Regions from separate parts of the Homo sapiens genome. Here all the other regions are linked to region 3. The links are contacts of gene promoters, found by promoter capture Hi-C in blood cells and fetal thymus (Javierre and others, 2016). All regions are on one chromosome and are shown on one strand. The core of a region is centred on a gene start or on the middle of the fragment in contact, and the rest is flanking DNA. Distances in the headings are between cores, read along the strand shown.

The links. Contacts are between HindIII fragments. The CHiCAGO score rates a contact against its expected background, and 5 or more counts as called.
Region 1: a contact is called between the fragment with the promoter of IRGC here and the fragment with the promoter of ETHE1 in region 3, in 11 of 17 cell types (total B cells, monocytes, total CD4 T cells and 8 more). The highest score is 11.3, in total B cells.
Region 2: a fragment that was not itself captured here is called in contact with the fragment with the promoter of ETHE1 in region 3 in 1 of 17 cell types (monocytes); the score reaches 5.0 in monocytes.
Region 4: a contact is called between a fragment that was not itself captured here and the fragment with the promoter of ETHE1 in region 3, in 5 of 17 cell types (activated CD4 T cells, total CD8 T cells, fetal thymus and 2 more). The highest score is 7.0, in activated CD4 T cells.

Annotation. Positions count from the first base shown.
Region 1 is chr19:43,714,342-43,717,373 of GRCh38, reverse strand. It overlaps IRGC (immunity related GTPase cinema), which reads right to left and starts at 1,298. Exons shown (of 2, transcript NM_019612.4): 1 at 1,232-1,298. RefSeq lists an enhancer at 825-1,325. The HindIII fragment of the contact is 15,065 bases long and covers 1-3,032 here.
Region 2 is chr19:43,765,408-43,768,353 of GRCh38, reverse strand. KCNN4 (potassium calcium-activated channel subfamily N member 4) reads left to right here. Exons shown (of 9, transcript NM_002250.3): 8 at 647-814; 9 at 1,265-1,821. The coding sequence ends at 811. Among named protein-coding and RNA genes, the nearest start is that of SMG9, 12 kb to the right of the region's middle. RefSeq lists a silencer at 1,935-2,098 and an enhancer at 2,485-2,574. The HindIII fragment of the contact is 8,185 bases long and covers 1-2,946 here.
Region 3 is chr19:43,525,951-43,528,746 of GRCh38, reverse strand. ETHE1 (ETHE1 persulfide dioxygenase) reads left to right here and starts at 1,546. Exons shown (of 7, transcript NM_014297.5): 1 at 1,546-1,650; 2 at 2,088-2,232; 3 at 2,398-2,546. The coding sequence starts at 1,570. RefSeq lists a silencer at 1,395-1,584 and enhancers at 2,195-2,374, 1,890-2,394, 2,395-2,796. The HindIII fragment of the contact is 10,435 bases long and covers 1-2,796 here.
Region 4 is chr19:43,748,807-43,751,657 of GRCh38, reverse strand. SMG9 (SMG9 nonsense mediated mRNA decay factor) reads left to right here. Exons shown (of 14, transcript NM_019108.4): 2 at 911-1,066. The coding sequence starts at 917. Among named protein-coding and RNA genes, the nearest start is that of SMG9, 4.7 kb to the left of the region's middle. The HindIII fragment of the contact is 8,040 bases long and covers 1-2,851 here.

The DNA.
Region 1 (3,032 bases), core at 49-2,548, 190 kb before region 3:
GGCATCACCATCATCGTCATTATTCTTATCATTAGTAATATTCTTAGCTGTGTGACTTTGAGCAAGTCCTCGCCCTGTCTGAGCCTCAGCTGCCCCGTGGGGGATACTCCTCCCCACCTCGCAGGGCTGCTGTGATGCCCACAAACCCCGTTCAGCTAGCCCTAGGCTGACTTTGGGTTCAGACGCCCTTGGGTTCGGGAAGCCAGACATGGGGACCACCTGGACACCAGGAGTCATTTCCATGAAACCCCACCCCTGCCATGGCAGCCCTTGCCTCCCGGGGTTCAGTTCCCCTCCCACCGCCCAGAGCTCCTGTCGTGATGGTCCCCCCTCAGATCCCTCCTCCTCACCAGGAGCTTCCCTGGTCCTCCCTCTTCCCACTCACCCTCCTCTGGCCCATCATCTCTAAAATACATTTACTCACTAAGGGTCTTCAGGGTGCCCTGGGAGAGCTGCTCATGTCTGGGATCACTGTCCCCATTTGACAGGGAGAAGGACTGAGGCTCAGACAAGACAAATGAGGTCTCCTCATCCAGAGGCATAGCCAGGACCCCAACCCAGGTCCCCAGGCTCCTTCACCCACCTAGAGAGCTACTCTCCCTTCAGCTGCATGTCCCTGCCTCCTGCATTGTCTCCTTGCCCCCTGCACCCCGTCTCTTCACCTCCTACCACTCACCCCATCCTCTGCTACCCCACTCCACCCCCCACAGAAATATGTCCTTAAGACATTGTTCCCGGCTGGGCATGGTGGCTCACGCCTGTAATCCTAGCACTTTGGGAGGCCGAGGTGGGTGGATCACTTGAGGTCAGGAGTTCGAGACCAGCCTGGCCAACATGGTGAAACTCCATCTCCACTAAAAATACAAAAATTAGCCAGGTGTTGTGGCGCATGCCTGTAGTCCCAGCTCTTGAACCCAGGAGGCGGAGGTTGCAGTGAGCCAAGATTGCACCACTGCACTCCAGCCTGGGCGACAGAGCGAGACTCCGTCTCAGAAAAAAAAAAAGGAAAAAAAAAAGACATTGTTGCCTCCAGATCTGAGCCTCCTATCCTGGGTGTGCCCTCTCCCTAGTATGGTCTGCGGTGGGAAGAGTAGGAACCTGGAACAGGTCCTGGCAGCAAGGGGCAGACAAGTCAGTGGTTGGAATTTGGGCTGAGGGGGTCCGGATTAGACCATAAGCTCCTGCTCCGCCCACGCACAGGGGCCCAGCGAGAGAGCCCTGGGGGACTCACCTGCCCTGCAGGCTCTCCCTCTCCCCTCACACTCTCCCCACTGATAGGATCTCCTTCCCTCTTAGCCAAGGTCAGACACCGTTGCTAGGACCCATTATCATAGCAAGCAGCAGCTTATTGGTCAGCCAGACCTGGTGCAATAATGCGACAGTGATGTCAGGGGGTGGGGCCCGGAGGTGGAGCAGGGACCCCAAGCCCCAGCTGCTCATGGGGTCACCACCCACTCACACTGGGCCCTCCAGTTCCCCTGAAGACTCCAGAGAGATCTTTCTAACACCAAGACCTGTTCAAAATCCTCCATGGTCTCCATCACCCCCCAAGGACAAAGTCTCAGATTCACAGATTGGTTTCCAAGGGCTTGGCCCTGCTACCACTCCACCCTCCACCCAGGGGACTGTCAGTTCCCCAGAGAAGTGTGAAAGTTGATGATACAAATTCGGTCATTGCTGGTGGGCACAGTGGCTCACGCCTGTAATGCCAGCACTTTGGGAGGCCGAGGCGAGTGCATCACTTGAGGCCAGGAGTTTGAGATCAGCCTGGGCAATGTGGTGAAACTCCATCTCTACTAAAAATACAAAAATTAGCCAGATGTGGTGCATGCATGTAGTCCCAGCTACTCGGGAGGCTGATCTGCTATCTTGTAAGCCCAATAATTTAGTCATTGATTTCTTTTTTTTCTTTTTTTGAAACAGTGTCTTGCTCTGTCACCCAGGCTGGAGTGCAGTGACACAATCTTGGCTCACTGCAACCTCCGCCTCCTGGGTTCAAGTGATTCTCCTGCTTCAGCCTCCTGAGTAGCTGGGACTACTAGCATGCACCACCAGGCTTGGCTAATTTTTTTTTTTTTTTTTTTTTTTTAGTAGAGGTGGGGTTTCACCATGTTGCCTAGGCTGGTCTTGAACTCCTGACCTCAGGTTATCCGCCTGCCTCGCCTCCCAAACCTCCTGACCTCAGGTTATGCCGCCTCCCAAAGCGCTAAGATTACAGGTGTAGCCACTACACCCGGCCCCTTCTTGTCCTTTATAAGTGTCTCTGTCCTGTCTCCCCTCCGGGCTTCCTCTCTGCCCAGGCCAGGCTCCACAGGGCCTTCTCCATTCTCCTCTTGTAGGGAATTTACAATAACGCTACTCAGAGGATTTTCCTGACCATCTGCAGGCCAGTTCTGGAAAGGAGCCTCTGAGAACAACTAAGGAGAGAGAGGCCCAGAAGGGGAATAGACTAGCTCAGAGCCACCCTGAGAGCTGGGGAAGAGTGGGCTGTTGGCCGCATAGTACAGAGTTCTTAAGCCACAGGTGAAAGGGAGGTGCAGGGCAAAAGACACACGACTCACTCATGCTCTCACTGACTGACACAAACACACAGAGCTGAAGAGAGTGAACAACATGGTTCTCAGACTTCCCCGGACACCGAGCACACAGACCAGCAGACAGCAAGGACTCCTTCCCAAAATGCATGGACACGCACCCCTGGCCCAAGAGAGAAGGGAAAGACACAGAAAGAGCCTCAAATACAGAGTTACTTCGTGGCTGGGCATGGCGGCTCACTCACGCCTGTAATCTCAGCAATTTGGGAGGCCGAGGTAGGAGGTTTGCTTGAGCCCAGGAGGTTGAGACCAGCCTGGGCAACATAGCAAGACCCTATCTCTTTTTTTTTTTTTTTTTTTTGAGACGGAGTCTCGCTCTGTCTCCCACGCTGGAGTGCAGTGGTGCAATCTCGGCTCACTGCAAGCTCCGCCTCCCGGGTTCCTGCCATTCTCCTGCCTCAGCCTCCCGAGTAGCTGGGACTACAGGCGCCTGCCACC
Region 2 (2,946 bases), core at 431-2,930, 240 kb before region 3:
TATCTGGTGGCCTTTGCTTTTTCTCGTTAGCCCACGACAGTTCAAACAGTGGCCCCTGGCAGCAATGCCATGGTAAGCACGGTCACAGATGCAGGCCCCAAAACCGCATGGCAGGTCTCAGTGACGAGGCAGTGGCCCAGATCTGCAGGAATTGGCAGGTGGTAATTTCTGAAGGTTATCAAGCCAAAAACACAGAATTCAAGAATTTCCATAGAAAATCCACAAACCCTCAGGGATCAACTAGTGAATCCTAGCCAGAGAATGCAGTAAAAGACTATGTGGATTTGGAAGTCAGGCATCATCCATGCTAGAAATATCTAATGAGCACCTGCTATGTTCTAGGTCTTATTTCAGGAGCTGCTTTGGGCATGTCATTTAACTGTTCCATGCCTGTTTCCTCAGCTGTAAGACAGGAACAGGATTCCCACTCCCTGTGGCTTTTGGGAGGATTTTAAACCATATAGGGAAACACCTGGGCAGGTAGCTGGGAAGTGGTAGGTGGTCAATACATGGTAACAGTTATTGTCGAGGGTAATCCTCAGAGGACCATAAGGATGTGGTCAATATTGGTTCCATTGCCTTACGCTATGGAGTAGGTGGGGGTCGACCCCAGCCCCGACACCTCTGATCCTCTCCTCCCACCCAGATGCACATGATCCTGTATGACCTGCAGCAGAATCTGAGCAGCTCACACCGGGCCCTGGAGAAACAGATTGACACGCTGGCGGGGAAGCTGGATGCCCTGACTGAGCTGCTTAGCACTGCCCTGGGGCCGAGGCAGCTTCCAGAACCCAGCCAGCAGTCCAAGTAGCTGGTGAGGGGGCTGGGACTTGGGCAGGAAGGCATCCTGGAGGAAGGGTTCCTGTGGCCAGCACCCTATGTGGCTAAGGGGGCGGGGGATGGCTGGGAGACAAGGCCGCCTTTTCTCATCAGCTCTGGCACTGTCTGGAGGAAAGGACTCAGTTCGGGGCTGGACTGGCAGTGAAGGAAGATGGTGTACCCTCTCCCCTTCACTGACCCTTGATGGCCTTCTCCCTCTTTGCTTGGTCTCTCTCTCTCTCTCTGCCTGTCCTGGGCACATTGTCTGGCTGTCCATCCAATGTCTCTGTCTAAATGCCCTCCTGCCCCCTGGCCTCGGGGCCCGGAAACACCTGCCCCCTGTCTCCCACTTCTGCCCACCGGTTTCTGTCTGCACCTCGGTGTGTCCCACTCTCACTCTCCCTCTTCCTGGCCTGCCTCTCCATCAGTCTCTCTGTCTCTCCAGGACCCACGAGGAGGAACCAGGCTACTTTCCCCAGTACTGAGGTGGTGGACATCGTCTCTGCCACTCCTGACCCAGCCCTGAACAAAGCACCTCAAGTGCAAGGACCAAAGGGGGCCCTGGCTTGGAGTGGGTTGGCTTGCTGATGGCTGCTGGAGGGGACGCTGGCTAAAGTGGGTAGGCCTTGGCCCACCTGAGGCCCCAGGTGGGAACATGGTCACCCCCACTCTGCATACCCTCATCAAAAACACTCTCACTATGCTGCTATGGACGACCTCCAGCTCTCAGTTACAAGTGCAGGCGACTGGAGGCAGGACTCCTGGGTCCCTGGGAAAGAGGGTACTAGGGGCCCGGATCCAGGATTCTGGGAGGCTTCAGTTACCGCTGGCCGAGCTGAAGAACTGGGTATGAGGCTGGGGCGGGGCTGGAGGTGGCGCCCCCTGGTGGGACAACAAAGAGGACACCATTTTTCCAGAGCTGCAGAGAGCACCTGGTGGGGAGGAAGAAGTGTAACTCACCAGCCTCTGCTCTTATCTTTGTAATAAATGTTAAAGCCAGAAGTTGCCATTTCTCTCTAAACATATCTACACTCCTAACTGGCAGACCGTCCAGTGGAAGACTGTTGCCTTGTCTGAACCTGTCTCAGAGGCCTTCTCCTGTAAGTGCCCTCCCAACTCTGTAGGCTGGGCAGTCCTCAGCAACAGTCCCCTGCCCAGATCTGAGGCAAAGAGCAACAGCTTTGAACTCAGACAGATCAGGGTCCAAATCCTGGTTCTACCATCCACTGGTGGTGTGATCTTGGGTAAGTGGCTTCACCTCTGAACAGTTTACCTCACCTGTGAAATGGGACTGCCTCCCCATGGAACTGCTGTGAAGATTAAAACATGGAGTAGCCCAGAGGCATTTAGTAGGAACCAAATATGTGAGAGAGAATCTTTTTTTTTTTTTTTTGAGATGGAGTCTTGCTCTGTCACCCAGGCTGGAGTACAGTGGCGCGATTTCGGCTCACTGCAACCTCCGCCTCCAGAGTTCAAGCGATTCTCCTGCCTTAGTCCCCAAGTAGCTGGGATTACAGGCACCTGCCACCACGCCTGGCTAATTTTTGTATTTTTAGTAGAGATGGGGTTTCACTATGTTGCAGATGCTGGTCTTGAACTCCTGGGCTCAAGCAATCTGCCCGCCTCAGCCTCCCAAAGTGCTGGGATTACAAGCGTGAGCCACTGTCCCTGGCCAAGAATCATTTTTATTATTGTTTTTGATTTTCACACACAATGCGTGGCTGCCCTTTTTCTGATTTTTTGTTGCTTTTCTCCCTCTATTCATGCCTTACCAGAATCTAGATGACAACTCACTCATCAAGAGACTAACAGAGGCCCCAAACCTCCCCAAACCACCCACATACCCGTTTCACATCCGCTCAAGAGAGGATGTGAAAGGGAAGGGGGCAAAGGAGGGGGGCTGGCACTTCCAGAGGCCCTACTGTGTGCCCAGCTCTGTTTATAAGTCACCATAACCACTCTCCTGACCCTCGTTACCCCACTGCACAGATGTAGAAACCGAGGTTTCAAGAGGAGCCAGGCCTCCCCTCAGGCCCCCAGCCGGAAGCTAGGAATACGGGCTGGAGAGCCCAGATTCACACCCATCCCGCCCCACTGCAAGGTGAGTCAGAGGCAGAGTGGCCTTGG
Region 3 (2,796 bases), core at 297-2,796:
GCTGCTCTGAAAATAGCTCCAGGGACCATTCCCTGGAAACTCCAGAATTAAGATAAATGTTGTTGCAGGAAACCCCTCCTCAGAAGCTGTGGGACAGGATAACTCAGTGGTTCATACCTGTAATCCCAGCATTTTGGGAGGCCCAGGTGGGAGGACCATTTGAGGCCAGGAGCTGGAGACCAGCCTAGGCAACATAGCAAGACCCCTGTTTCTACAAAAAAAATTCTAACAATTAAAAAAAAAAAAAAAAGCTCTGCCCCTAGGCTGGAAATCAAGGCTGCTCTGATGTCACAAAGTGACATAGATCCTCCAGATGAGAGTGGGATGTCCTATTCTCACTACTGCTACGATTACAAAGAGCAGACTTTCTGACAGCTCATGACTTGAGACTACAGTTTTTCAGCCCCAGGTCCTTGGTGTAAATGAACACAAGCTCTTTTCAGAGGTTCACACCCCAACAGAAGATGAATAATCCCCAATCTGATTATTCAAGAGATAATGCAAAATTATCTTTTTTTTTTTTTTTAAGATTTCTTCCTGGAAAGAGAGAAACATTCCTGATAAAATGCTTATGCAATTTCTGGATGAACTTTAATGGGATCAAGTGTTGTTCTGGTAACCAGGCACCCACTCAAAAGTCCCTCAAGATATTAATGACCTGGAACCGAACGAATATCTTTTTTTTTTGAGACAGAGTCTCCCTCTGTCGCCCAGGCTGGAGTGCAGTGGCGTCATCTCTACTCACTGCAACCTCTGCCTCCCGGAACCGAACATCTTTTTCTAACCATGACTATCCTACCACCTGCTAGAAAACGGCCCCACGGGACGCGGTGGCTCACGTCTGTAATCCCAGCACTTTGGGAGGACAAGGTGGGAGGAACGCTTGAGCTCAGGAGTTCGAGATCAGCCTGGGCAACATAGTGAGAACTCCGTCTCTGCAAAAAACAAATTTTATATACATGTATGTGTGTGTGTGTGTGTATATATATATATGTATATAAATATATATATAGATATAAATATATATATATAAAATGTCGGGTGTGGTGGCAACGTGCCATAGTCCCAGCTACTCGGGAGGCTGAGGTTGGAGGATCGCTTGAACCCGGGAGTTTAAGGCTGTAGTAAGCTGAGATCGAGTCACTGCACTCAAGCCTGCGTGACAGAGCGAGACTCTGTCTCAAAATAAAACAAAAGAAAAAGGAAAAAAAACGGCCCCGAGGCTATGAGTGTACTGGGGCCTCTCCCTGGGTTTCTACTTCTCTCCCTATCTCTGTTCCTACATGAGTATGTCTGTGTGTCTCTGAGCGTCTGTCCCTCGCACTTTGAGTGTCTCCCTGTTCTCTGTTTTTTCTGGGTCTCAAAGCGTCCAGGCATTGCACTCTGGCTTTCCTCGGTCTCGCCCTCGCCCCAGTCCCGCTCGGCGGTCCCCCGCCCTCTGCCCCAGGCGTCCGTGGCCCCTTTAAGGCGTGCTCCGCCCCCGCCCCGCCCTTCCCGGGGTCAGTGCCGTAGCGCCCGGCTCCTGCAGGCGCTCGGCCTCCGCTCATTCCTGACCCCGCAGTGGGCGCGATGGCGGAGGCTGTACTGAGGGTCGCCCGGCGGCAGCTGAGCCAGCGCGGCGGGTCTGGAGCCCCCATCCTCCTGCGGCAGGTGCGGGTGGCTGGACCTAGGAGGGGACTGCTGGGCACTAGGCGGCAGCAAGGACGGAACTCCGGGGTCTCTTAATAGGGAGAGATCCGGGGGGACCCACGCCTGCATCTTGCGGAAAGCGGGGTGGAGGTTTAGGGCTGGACTCTTGGGTCCTTTAAAGGTGAGTGGTCTGGGGGCCTCTGGGCTTGGGGCCAGACCCCTGGGTCCTCTATGAAAGAACGTGCTGGGGACCCTGATTTTGGGATGTTAGGAAGTTGGAACTCTTTTGTTCTGATAGGGGAAGGTAGTGGGGCTCCGGACTCCCGACTCCCGGGGAAAGAGTGGGCTGGGGTTTCTGCTTCTGGATCTTAGGAAGAGGATAGGGTCAGTCTGGACTACTTGGCCTCCAGTGGGTGGAAGTCCGGTTCTGCGCCCTCACCTGGGTCCCCCGTTCCCAGATGTTCGAGCCTGTGAGCTGCACCTTCACGTACCTGCTGGGTGACAGAGAGTCCCGGGAGGCCGTTCTGATCGACCCAGTCCTGGAAACAGCGCCTCGGGATGCCCAGCTGATCAAGGAGCTGGGGCTGCGGCTGCTCTATGCTGGTCAGTCCGGGGACCAAACTCATGGATCCCAGCGGGGCTGGGCTGCAGCGTCAGTGGAATGGGAAGCTGGGGCCCAGAACTCCTGAGTCTGAGGGAGAAGGATCTGGGCTGGGACTCCCAGGTCCTTTCTGTACCCTCCGGACCTGTCCCTCCTCTCTCTCCCAGTGAATACCCACTGCCACGCGGACCACATTACAGGCTCGGGGCTGCTCCGTTCCCTCCTCCCTGGCTGCCAGTCTGTCATCTCCCGCCTTAGTGGGGCCCAGGCTGACTTACACATTGAGGATGGAGACTCCATCCGCTTCGGGCGCTTCGTGAGTTGGGTGCTGGGTCCCCAAGAGGGTGGTGGCCTGGACTTCTTAAACTTAAGGGAAGAGGGGACTGGGGGCCTGGGATCCTGAGTCCTTGGGGAGGAGGGACCTCAGGACCTGGGTTTCTGACCCCTGAGCTCATATTTCTGGGAGGGGGGCACCATAAACCCAGGTGGGGCACTGGGGCAAGAGGCTCTGGGCAGGTGGGGCACTGGCGGAACTCCTAAGTCAACAGCATTTAAGGAGTTTCCTT
Region 4 (2,851 bases), core at 91-2,590, 220 kb before region 3:
AGCTGCCAAGCCACACTTCTAGTGTCATACCATAGCCAGAAAGTACTTACTCACATGGCCACACCTAACTGCAAACAAGGATGAGAAGTTTGTTCTGGATAGCCATGTACCTAGCTCAGAACTGAGGGTTTTACTTTTTTGGAAGAAGTCAGGAGTGGATGTTGGGAACCAGCTTGCAGTTGCTACCACAGGCCCAGAGCTCTGTTGAAAGGAAGGGCCTTGGCCGGGCATGGTGGCTCACGCCTATAATCCCAGCCCTTTGGGAGGCTGAGGCAGGTGGATTGCCTGAGGTCAGGAGTTTGAGACCAGCCTGGCCAACATGGTGAAACCCCATCTCTACTAAAAATACAAAAAAAATTAGTCGGGTGTGGTGGTGGGCATCTGTAATCCCAGCTTCTCAGGAGACTGAGGCAGGAGAATTGCTTGAATCTGTGAGGTGGAGGCTGCAGTGAGCCGAGATTACGCCATTGCACTCCAGCCTCGGTGACAAGAGCGAAACTCTGTCTCAAAAAAAAGAAGAAAGGAAGAGCCTTGGTTGGGCACAGTGGCTCACATCTGTAATCCCAGCACTTTGGGAGGCCAAGGTAGGTGCATCACCTGAGGTCAGGAGTTCGAGACCAGCCTGGCCAACATGGTGAAACCCCATCTCTACTAAAAATATAAAAATTAGCCAGGCATGGTGGTGGGTGCCTGTAATCCCAGCTACTTGGGAGGCTGAGGCAGAAGAATTGCTTGAACTCAGGAGGCAGAGGTTGCAGTGAGCCAAGATCAGGCCACTGTACTCCAGCCTGGGCGACAGAGAGACTCCATCTCCAAAAAAAAGAAAGAAGGGACTTCGTATAGTCTAGGATATGCCAAGTAGAGTAGGAAGAGACTCTGTCATCCTGAAATCCCCTCATTCCCTCCATAGGTAACCATGTCTGAGTCTGGACACAGTCAGCCTGGACTCTATGGGATAGAGCGGCGGCGACGGTGGAAGGAGCCTGGCTCTGGTGGCCCCCAGAATCTCTCTGGGCCTGGTGGTCGGGAGAGGGACTACATTGCACCATGGGAAAGAGAGAGAAGGGTGAGTGTCTGGACCCAGGAGCAGCATTCATGTATCTATTTGGTTCCACGCACCTGCCATGTGCCAGGCACTAATCCAGATGCCGGGGATATATTTGTAAACAAAACCTACCACCCTCATGGATAAAGAAGGTGGAGAGTGATAAAGGAGACTGTTCTAGATAACATGGTCAGAGAAGGTCTCTCTGAAGAGGTGACTTTTTAGCAGAGACTTGAAGGAGATGAGAGAATAAGCCATGCCAGCATCTGAGATGAAGAGCATTCCAGACAGAAAGAACAGCAAGCGCAGAGGCCCTGAGGTGGCCCATATCTGGCGTGTTCAAGGAGTAGCCATAGGAGGCCAGGATGGCTGCAATTGATGAGGAAGGAGGGAGAGAGATAGGAGATGAAGTCAAGTAACTGGGGCCAAATCATGTAGGACCTGGTAGGCCTTGGAAAGAACTTTGTATTTCACTGAGTGAAATTGGCATTGGAGAGTTTGAGCTGAGAGGTGCCATAGCTCATGTTTTAAAGGGTCATGTCATAATAACAACAACTGTTACTCTTTTTACTGAGCAGCCTATACTGTGCTTGCACTGTGCAAAGTCTTTTACATCCTTTGGGTCTTCCTGAACCCTTACAGCTACCCCATGAGGTAGATTCTATGATAGATCTGATTTTCACTAATGAGGAAAATGAGCCCCAGAGGTGAAGGGACTTTTCCAAAATCAGAGTCAATAAACTTTGGGTCCAGGACTCAGATCCAGGTCCAGCTTAGTCTCACATATAGCATCGCTCTGCCTGCTGTAGAGAGCGCCCTGGGCTGGGAATCAGGAGGGATCGGCTTGTGCCCAGGCCCAGCCTCGCTCCCCTCCTGTACCTAGGTGACTCACTGCCAGAACCTGCCCCCTGGGCTTTTTTCTCTAGGGCCCTGTCCACCTCAGAGATGTCAGGTAGGGTGGAAGTAGGTGACAACTGGGGCCAGCTTCTGAGCTATAAAACTGTACAAACATGAAGAATAGTTTTTTCACAGTGAGCTGGGCTCTTACTTGCTCCTTCTCTTGGGCCACAGTGTAAATGAGAACACGTAGTCTCTCTTCCTTCCACATAATGCCCTCCTGGGGAATGTTATCCCGCCACACCTTCAGGTTTAATCCTTGAACAAGCACCTCCTAAACCTCATCTTTGTCTCTAAATGTGCTACTGAGCCCTGGCAGCCTCTTGTCACACCCATGGGCTTCTTATCCTCTGTGTCCCGTGCTGACCTCGGCATCTTTCTGCCATTTTTCCTCTTCCCATTTTTTTCTCCCATATCAGTGACAGCCCATTGGGCCTTATCCTGAATGCCTCTCTCGCCTCTCCCCTGCTTCCTCTGTGCTAGTCAGGCACCAGTGCTTTACATTCTGCCGCCTGGTTATATCTGTGTGTCTTCTCTCTACCCTCACAGCGTTCATCCCAGGTATAGACTGAATATCCGAAGTGCTCCAAAATTCCAAATGTTTTGAGCACCAACGTGACATTTAAGGGAAATGTTTATTGGAGCCTTGCAAATGGATTTGGGGTGCTCAACCAGTAAATATGCAAATATTCCAAAGTTCAAAAAAATCCCAAATTCAGAACACTTCTGGTCCCAGGCATCTGAGATAAGAGATACTCAGCCTGTATCATCTCCCCCTTCCTAGCCTCCTGGAAGTCCACAGCCTCTCCTCCTGTAGTTTTTCCCTTGAAACTTCTTTTCGAAGCACTTTCACTTCGTCTTTTTGTTTGTTCTTCACCGTAAGCCAGTGAAGTGAGCAGGGTTTAAGTA